Linked DNA regions of Homo sapiens: all the other regions are linked to region 2. Evidence: promoter capture Hi-C in human tissues and cell types (Jung and others, 2019). All regions are on one chromosome and are shown on one strand. Each heading gives the region's core, a stretch centred on a gene start or on the middle of the fragment in contact. The rest is flanking DNA. Distances are from core to core; before and after follow the strand shown. Region 1 overlaps CAB39L (calcium binding protein 39 like). Region 2 holds the start of RCBTB1 (RCC1 and BTB domain containing protein 1). Region 3 overlaps CAB39L (calcium binding protein 39 like).

Evidence for each region. Contacts are between HindIII fragments. The study calls those that stand out against the background at their distance.
Region 1: a fragment that was not itself captured here is called in contact with the fragment with the promoter of RCBTB1 in region 2 in 2 of the 25 tissues and cell types used here (adrenal gland and small bowel).
Region 3: a contact is called between a fragment that was not itself captured here and the fragment with the promoter of RCBTB1 in region 2, in 2 of the 25 tissues and cell types used here (dorsolateral prefrontal cortex and hippocampus).

Annotation. Positions count from the first base shown.
Region 1 is chr13:49,352,846-49,356,152 of GRCh38, reverse strand. All of the region lies in intron 6 of CAB39L (calcium binding protein 39 like), which reads left to right. Among named protein-coding and RNA genes, the nearest start is that of CAB39L, 90 kb to the left of the region's middle. The HindIII fragment of the contact is 4,293 bases long and covers 1-3,307 here.
Region 2 is chr13:49,583,980-49,587,252 of GRCh38, reverse strand. It overlaps RCBTB1 (RCC1 and BTB domain containing protein 1), which reads left to right and starts at 1,695. Exons shown (of 13, transcript NM_018191.4): 1 at 1,695-1,809. RefSeq lists a silencer at 1,462-2,171. The HindIII fragment of the contact is 9,086 bases long and covers 1-3,273 here.
Region 3 is chr13:49,396,491-49,399,743 of GRCh38, reverse strand. All of the region lies in intron 3 of CAB39L (calcium binding protein 39 like), which reads left to right. Among named protein-coding and RNA genes, the nearest start is that of CAB39L, 46 kb to the left of the region's middle. The HindIII fragment of the contact is 6,659 bases long and covers 1-3,253 here.

The DNA.
Region 1 (3,307 bases), core at 481-2,980, 230 kb after region 2:
TTGGTGACAGTCTAATCCACTATAAAGTTTCCCATCAACCTTAAACTTAATTGTTTTACCATCCATTGATGAACATTGCCTGATTCCGTCATTTTGCTAGAGGTGACAAAAAGGTAATTTTGAATTCTGTCATTCCTTTTGTATTTTTTATTGGCTAAAGTAGTTTTATAGAGAATACTGTCATTCACCCACCACAGCTTCAGGTGTTAGAATACTCTGAAGTATAATTCATACCAGAGAGGCAGAATAAATGCTCAATTCTTTTCTTTTAATTATCATTTTAGAGAAAAATAAGATATCCTAGGAACTTTCATCGGTGTCTAATGAGTTATTTCCCTCCCTCCCCCTGCCTTTATATATGTGTGTGTGTATAAATATATATATATATTTATATATGTACAGAGACACACACTCTTCTAGTATCTGATGAACTAATGGATTTAATGTTTTCTATATGTCTTATTTAGTTCTACACATGTTTTTTTAATGCTCAATTGGCCATCTGTGGCCCCTTCTAGGTGATATCTCTTAACATCACTAAAATAGTTTCTGAGAGCTTCTTTGCTTTCTGGTGTAACGAGATATGCCACCCAACTTGTACATTTGCTGACAAAGACCTGAAATTTCTACCAAGGATGTTGGTTCTTTTTAGAGAGAAATGGTTCTTAGAGACTACAATCTGGTTGCTAGGGGTGCTCATTGACATTGGATTGTTATTGCTTCTAGGCCTTTTTGGTGGACAGAACTAACTCATTATTTTATTTATTTATCGAGACAGGGTCTTGCTTTGTTGCCCATACTAGAAGGTAGTGCTGTGATCACAGCTCACTATAGTCTCAACCTCCTAGGCTCAAGTGATCCTCCTGACTCAGCCTCCCAAATAGCCGGGACTACAAGTGCATGCCACCACACTTAGCTAATTAATTTTTTTTTTTTTTTTGTAGAAACAGGGTCCCACTATGTTGCCCAGGCTGGTTTCAAACTCCTGGGCTCAAGCAATCCTCCTGCCTTGGCCTCCCAAAGTGCTGGGATTATATGCATGAGCCACTATGCCTGGCCTAACTCATTATTTTTAGTCAGCAAATGTTTCTAGATTAGAAACATACGTTCTTGACTATATTGAGGAGGCCAAGTGTTTGTTGAATGGCATTTTACAAAAGCTTTCCAGGTATTTCCTGGCCTTGTTTACTTCCAGCAATAATCACAAAAGTCATTTTCCCCCTTACATAATGTAATCTTTGTTCTTAAATTGAAATATTCTTGCACAAGATCATTCTTCTGACCATTTTCTGTGTAATGATTACTGTAGCTCACTGCCAGCTGAGACCATTGCTCTTACATTTTGGCTTTCATTAAATTTGAGAGAGACTTTTCATTATGCTGTCATTATTTGATGGGCATGCCTAGATAGTGCCTTCTCCACACTGACACAGTTCATTATAGTCCAGACTATATGATCTAAATTACAAATCAAGAGGGAAGATAAGATTCAGTTCTATAAAATAGTGATTCAGCATTCATCAGATTAACCTTTACTGGGGACCTGCCATGGGTTAGCCATTGTGGAAAATGCAGTAATTAGGCAGGATCCTTGCCATCAGGAAGCTTATCTATGAGTAGAATAGATTAGGTGGGATACATATTGATTCTTTAACAGACCTAAGGATATTAATGTTAGTGGGATTTGAAACTTAACCTAAGCTTATCTTTTGGAGCACTTCTTTAAATAGTAAGCAATAACCTATCAAAAGTCAATATACTAGAGGGTAGTCAGGTAGAAATGATCTATGTGAATTATAAATCACTTAAAGAGTACTGAGGAGAATTAGAATTCCCTATATATCTCTGTATATCCCTATGTATTTCTGAATTTAAGAAGTTGTAATCTCAGAATGACAGATGTCAAACTGCTGGGATGAAATGACAAGTGTGCTGACCCAGAGGAGTCTTGGTTTTTTAAAAACATTCTTTTGATTCTCAAGAATAAACTGTCAGTGCATCACAGATGGTTTCAATAAGCTTCACGAAATGAAAGGAAAAAGAGAACTAATTATACCCAAAAGTTAGAGTGGAAACTTTTTATAGATGGTCTTAGTTTGGAAATTGAATTAAGAAATGAGAAAATGTTGGCCAGAGATGATGCATATTTTGTATACGTCAGAGTTTGACTCTCATTAGAGTACTCTAGTATTAAGACATTTCTTCAGTTTGAGGTTCATTAAATTCATTATATGCATGCTTCGTGAAAAACATTATAATAGGCACTCTTCGGAGACTGGGGTAGGGACAGGAGAAAGTAGCAATAAATGACATAGACACCAAATGGAGATGGGGATAGGGGAGGAGAGGAGAAGGTAACAGGATAAGTAAAACATATCCCCAACAATTAAATTGATTGTAATGAAGAAAATAGACCTATAGCAATTTACTGCAGTATAACATAATACAGAATGAAAAAAGTGTTAAAGAGAAATTACAGACAAGCTGTTATTTGAGTGTGAAGGGCAGAAAGAATAATCCTGAATTGTAGTGATTAGGAAAGGCTTCAAGGAGGAGATGGCATTTGAACTAAGCCTTGAGAGATGAGAAGCATCTGAGTTGTGGGAATGTAAGAAGGGCATTCCAATTGAGGGAATGAGGGGCTCCAGGGAAATAACGAATGTGATGGGAGATGAAACTGAAAAGTTAAGGTTAGGGCCAAATTACAAAAATCCACATATATCTTGCTGATCAATAAGTCTGGATTTTAATTGTCCTTCCCTTAGATTCTTTCTCTAGGCCAACAGCCTTTATTTTATACTCTCTTGAGTACTCTATCAATAAATGACAGTGCTTTTCTCCTTTACATTTCAGAACATATACCCCTCTTTACAACATCTTTAATAAAACCCCACCTGACAACTGTTCCTTGTGAGCCAATAGGCTGAGTTTCAGGTTTTTCTAATAAGAGAAATTGCTAGCACTATAAATTGGCATTCCTTATATTCTACAAAGAATCATGACTATCTGAATGTATCAGCATTTAATGTTACTATGAGTTATTCAGGGAATACTCAATATTTGTGAATATCATTCTGCATAAACAGGACAAAAATGAATAAATACCACCCTGGTATCTTTGTTTGCTGTTTCTTCTACTAATATTTGTAAATTTGATATTGGAAAGTAGTCTATTTCCTCAATTGAATCTTTATTCTTGAATCTGTCTTTCATGAAAATTCTATAATCTTATAAAGAGTAGTACATTACTTATTGTTCAACAAATGTTGTTACTAGTAGTTGATGAGTAATAAAATATCTTAAAGTT
Region 2 (3,273 bases), core at 446-2,945:
CTCAACTGCCACTACTTTGGGCAAGCCACTTCATTCAGTGAGTATTAAGGGTCTATCACATGCCAGGCGCTGTTCTAAACCCAGAAGAATCCTGTTTCAAAGAGTTTATAATCTAAGGGAGAAGACAGCAATAGACAATTCACCTTTTACAGGAAATGCGCAGTCTATTTCTGGGCAGTGTGAGGTGTATCAGAATATATATAGTATTCTGGAAATCAGGGAAGAAGTTGCAGCTGACACTGTCTGGATGAACTTCAATTGCTAAAAAATCAGGGAAGAGGATGCTGGGAAGACAAGAGTAGGCGGCATTTGACCTGGATTTTGAAAGATGAGTAGGAAACTGATGTGTACTTTGGAGGCTGTTGAAGAAAACCAGAGCCAAACAGTAGTTGAAGTGGTAAAAACATTTTATTCAGGAACTAGTGCAACAGGAGCGAGACCTCAGAATAGATACAGAACTAAGCTCAATTCTCTTATTGCATTAGTTTCTTAATACCTTTTTTTTTTTTTTTAATCATTGGCCCTGGTTTTCTTTAAGTGGGGGAGGTGGTGATTCAGGACATTTCAGATACAGACAAAAGAATGAACAAAGCAAAAAGGAGTAAAGAAACTTAGAGAAAAAGTAAATAATCCAAAGAAAGTTGAGTAGTCAAGGAAAACAAATTATTTGTAGCCAGAGCCTCCAGTAATGTTGGGGAAGTGGCAAGAGATGAGGGACGGTAGGACTTTTTTAATAATTCAAGTTACCAAAAGTGAAGTTATCTGGTGATATTTAGAAAATGAAATGTTTTTCTGTTTATTCCTAGGAGCTCAAATGGGAAAGGTAAGTGAACAAGTGGCTGGAATGCTATGCCAACAAGTTTGGATTTTATCCTGCAGCGCCAACTGGGAGTTCTCCGAGAGCTGTATGGTATTTTACAAAGGGACTGTAGTCTTTATAGGTGATAGGCTGGAGCAGCTCGTAGCAGTCCCTCTCCTGGCCTCAGTTTACTCGCTGGTAACACGAATCCGGTTGGACCAGATGCCCTCTTAGGTCCCGTCTAACCTCTATGGCATGCTTCCGAGGTACCTCTGCCTCTTTCCAATACCAGGACCTGTGCCTCATCTCGTCCTTCCTTCATACCTTTGTCCAGCTGCCACCTTCCCTAGTCCCTGGCCTGCCTCAGGTACTTTCAATCAGGAAGTGAGGGGCGGGGAGGGAGGGAGGCGCGTCTCCAGTAAAAACAAACTAGTCCCAGCTCCGCCGCCTTTCCTCCCAGGCAGCACCACCTGGGTGGTGCCCCGGGGCCAGACGCGCTCTAGAGTGGGCAGGGAGCCAAGTTTCTCGGTCGCTTTTCCGTCCTAGGTCTCTGGGGTGGTAGGCCGACCCTCCCCACAGCCAAGCCATCTCGGGGAGCAGAGCAGGAGCCCGTGCCTCGCGCGTTCCTGGTTCCTCAGACACAAAAGCCTCTAAGTCCCGGCAGCAGCCACCGGATTTCATGGGGACACTCCAGTGGCAGGGCCTCGGGGCGGGCCTGAGACGGCCAATCGGCTTCTAAAGAAGTCGGGTTGTAGGGCCCGAAGAGCAGGGTTTCGGCCGGGGCCGGGGCCGGGGCGGTGCGGGATGCTCGGCTGGGTAGCGTCCCGGGCGCGCGCTGCACCGGGTCACGTGAGGCGGCCGGGGCCACGTGACCCGGCGGGCCCGGCGCCCTGGCGCTCCTCCTCTTCGCTGCCGGTGGGCACCGCCGCTCGCTCGCACTTCTGCGCCCATTGGAGCTTCGGAGATCCCTGCGGTCCCGCGGGACGGCGCGGCAGCAGCTGACCTCGCAGGTAGCGTGTGGGCGCGGGGTCGAGCTCGCGGAGGCCTCTTCCCCCTCGGCCCTGCCCCTGCTTCCCTTCCCCGCAGGCCGGGCCGGGAGTGCCCCGTTACTCCTGTACCTCCCGCCTCCCTCGCTCGGGCTCCCGGGCAGTCCCTGCGGGCGCTGCGTCCGGGGCGAGGGATGGGGTCCCCGGCCCGGCCCCGCCAGCACCTCAGCTAATGTGCTCTCCTGCGAGGAGGAGGGAAGGATGGGGAGAGGCGAGGGAAAGTTTTCCCTGCCTCCCTCTCTTTTTTGAGGTGCACGGACTCGATTTTGCTCGTAGCTGAAGTCTGACTGCTGTGGGTGCCGTTTTACTGAGAGGAGATCTCCCCTCCGACTCTTCCTATTCTCTCTCCTTTCCAAGATCTTAGCATCTCTCCTTCGTCTCCTGAGAGTAGTGCTGTCACAAACCGTATTCTTTATCGTTTCCCTTTCCGACACAGAATCCACAAAGGCAGGGATTTTGTTAGTGAGGACTTTTATCCAGGCGTGCGGTGAACTCTAAATAAGTGACGTTTCCCTTGTCTGCCTCTGATAAAGTACCTACCTGCTCGGTTTAAGATGACTATCGAGCACGCTGTGTTCTGCTCGCATAAGTGGCCTTTTGTTTTTATTTATTTGCATGTAAGACACTTTCAAGCCATCTGCGGAACTCTGCAGCTGGGGATTACAATTTTATAAAGCAGTCTTGTAATAATGCTTTTAGAAAACCAGATTCATGATCTTCCTTGCTTTTGCCCTATTCTTTTTTTGGGAGGACTAAAAGCCCTTAGAGGACAAAAACTGAGTTTCTGAAACTGGTGTGTATTGTGGGCTAATAACATTAAAACATCAAAGTATATAATGCCGGAAGGAATGGAAAAATGATTGAATCCTGAGGGCAGTTTATAGGTGCTTTAAACTTTAGAGTACTCATTTCAAGTGAGCACTGGGTGAATTTCACCCGTTTAAACTGCTTTCAGGGTCGAGGATGTAACTGTATATTTGGATTCTATTAATATAACAGTTCATCTGTGGGATGGACTTTAATCCATTTAATCCATTGTGTGAATATCAGTCTATTTATTAATACTCTAGACGGGTCCTTTTTCTTCTACCCGCTAGTCTGTTTCTCTTGAAGAGGAAGCATATTCATCTTTAAAGAGATTTTTGCAAGTGATTTTTTTAAGTGTGTGATCCAAATGATAAAGTTCTGTGAACTTCAGAAAACAAGTAGCCATAAAAACCCAAAGCTGTCAAGCTTGTAGCTTTTAAAAAATGATTTGAAAATTTTAAAGCGTGCCCGTATGCTGCAGCAAGAACTTGGCTCCACCTAATATACGGGAGCTGGGAAGTCTGAAACAGTACCCTCCTTTTCCTGGGAGTCATTGTGGGGTAGATGAAACTGTGAAGGAAAGTGAGGACCTTTATTATGATGATGATATCCCTTCTGTGT
Region 3 (3,253 bases), core at 242-2,741, 190 kb after region 2:
AATCATTCACTGTGTTACCTTAGTGATGGTACCATTTCCCAGGCCCATAGGAATGTAAATATAGAAATAAAGAATAATGCATTCCCAATTTACAAACACTTTGTATTTGAGAAGTTTACTTGTGAATGGGTTGTTGGAAATTTAGAACCCATTTTCCCTGGGAAACAGTTTATCAAGTGACTGTTGGGCGTTTATTATAGTCTAAGCATGTATTTTACCCATGCTGTAGAAAAACCATTGCTACCTTGAAAAATATAAGAAAGTCAATTCCAATGACGAAACTAAATATAAAATAATTATGTTGGATAAGATATTATTTTTATTCTAAATATGAATGCTTAAAGAAAAGCAAGTTTAATAGGTGGATAGGTATTTGGAAGGATGCTTATGGGTTTTCTGGGTGCTTTCATGAGCTTTCAAGGTTGATTGCACTGTTTTTGAGATCTAATCTGACATTGAAATCAGTGATTTCTCTTTTTCTTGCTACAAGAATATTTCTGGCCATTGAGTTTGTACTTAGCCATTCCTAAGGGTCTAGCCCAGTGTGTGGCACATAGTAGGTACCTGATAATAGTTATTGCATGAGGACTAAACTGTTTCTTTGGTTCACAAAAATTGAAATGGGTTATTTTCCAAGATATCCAATAAAGGAAAGAGGCTTAGGGGCACACGTTTTTCCTTATGAGAAAGAGATGGCCTGAAAAGAATTGACTGAATTGTGAGATGTGAACAAAGCAAAAGTAAGATAGAATAGGTCTAACTCTGAAGAGAACAAGAAAAGACCATGGTATAACTTGGTTGCTGCCTTGAATGAGTAGGAATGGTGCTGAGGGGAGGCAATTTACAAGGTTAGGTATCTTGAGTACATGGGACATTCTAAAGTCAGGTGTCAACTTTAACTCAGAAGGATTATGTATTTGCAAATGTTTACTAGGACCCATATGAAGAAATGTGACTTATTTGGAAAACTTGTCTTGGGTCTATCCAAGTTAACTTTACTGGTCCTGAAAGTCTCTGTGAATTGCCAGTATATGAAATTTAAAAGTCAGTAATGCAATATGCATATGTAATGAAATAATAATGAAATAAACAATACAGTAGATGCAGGTTTTGGTTATCTTGGATGATTTGTAATGGCGTAAAAACTCTTGCATTTGATCAAGAAATACTTTCTTTAGTCTATTGTAAATCTTATGTAAAAAGTAATGATTTTGAGTGGTCCTAAATGGTATATAATAGGTTCTTAACAAGTATTTACTGAATGGATACAGGTAGATTTGGACAATTTTCCATTTCTGGGATATATATATGACTGTGTTTACATGCACATATATATTCGTAATGTGGCTTAAAGATTATATTTAGCTGATAGTCACATAACAAAGAAAAATCTATTAAAACTATATTAGCATGTCTATTAATTATAGTCAAAGTTGGTATTTCACTAATTAATTAGTTTAAACAGAGATCTTTACTGCTTATAAGTGAGATAACATACTTTGCAGTTTTGTGACTTAAATGTCTCAAACTTCTAGCAGAAACTCATATAGTCCCTTCCAACTTTGGAAGGATGAAAGATTATATCAAATTACTCAGCCAGAAAAACCGAATCAACTTTGAACAGCTTGGGGATAACAGATAACTTTAGCAAAATCACTTTCATCTCTATTCTCTCATGTTAATGTTTTTATAGATTGACAGGTCATAGACAGGCACAGGGCTTACTGAAGCTATGAAATAGTTGTATTTCACACTATTTGTATAAACCATGTCTTAATATCAATAACAGTAACTAACCAAAATTTGTTATGTGTAATATGTATGTGCTTACAAGAAAGAATGAAAACTGAATTATGAGTCTCCCTTGATAATTCTGTTTTTTAAAGAGTAACCATTTGTTAATTTCAGTAAGATCTAATGCTTTAATGATAGTTACCAGTTTTTGAGAATACTGACTTTGGTTCAGATCGCTGCTATAAGTTGAGATTGTAAAATTCTAATATAAAATTTTCAATCATTGACAATTATTAATAGCTAATAAAGGTGGAAAATTTTAGCTCTGACAAATGACTGGAGCTGTCAACAGAAACATCAGTGTGAACGTAATGAATAAAGTTACTAGTTTTTTTTTCTGGAACTACAATAGCCTAGTAGGATCCTTAGATAATAAATGTAGTAGTAGTTGTATATATTCCTAACTTTATATGTTAATTATTTTTAAAAATGTATTTCAGTGTTACTGTACATTAGAAATAAAGAGTAATTAACAAGGGACATGAGTTTCTCTTATAAAAGAGTTTTTCTTCTGATGTAAGTCTGACTGAGGCTTCCAGATGAATGGGACTCATAAAAAGCTCCTCACAACTTTTCCATTTCTGTGTAAATTGCCCATTTTTAGAAAGTGCCTCTCCCTCAAATTTGGTTAATAAAACTTATAAAAACAAGTTATTCTTAGTCATTTTTAACTGAAAAAGGGATTGTCAGTGAAAGTTGTTATTTATACTTTATTGTTTCACTCATATCTATAGGTTTTCAAGTACAAAATTCAGTTGTGGTGCTTTGTAATTACATTTAGGATGCATATTTTAAAATGGAAAAATTGAAGCATAGAAGATACTGATTGGAAGATTCTTTGACATATATAATATGGTTCATAATGATATGGTATTATTACATATATAATGATATGCTTTGTAACTTAACCATCTCTGTGAAGGCAATTCTAAATTATGTTTTTTGGGGGAGAGTCTTCTTGGATACAGTAGCAAATACAGTAGAACTTTAAGGTGCACTTTTTTGTTTTAAGATTTTCATATAATCAAATGCACCCATTTTAGGAGAATGGTTCAATTAGTATTGACATATGTATGTACTCATGTAACCTCCATCCCATTTAATTTTAAAAAATGAATCTTACAGGCACAATTTTTTGCCATGTACACTTGATTTCATTTCTTTCTATCTGTGAATCCTATTTGGAATACAGGTAAAGGAATAGCATCCCTGACCTTTTCTGAATTTTTTTTTTGTTTTTTTGAGATGGAATCTCGCTATATCACCCAGGCTGGAGTGCAGTGGTGCGATCTTGGCTCACTGCAACCTCCGCCTTCTGGGTTCAAGTGATTCTCCTGCCTCACCCTCCTGAGTAGCTGGGATTACAGGCGCCTGCCACCACACCCGGCTAATTTTTGTATTTTAGTAGAGACGAGGTTTCACCATGTTGGCTAGGCTGGTCTCAATCTCCTGACCTCAT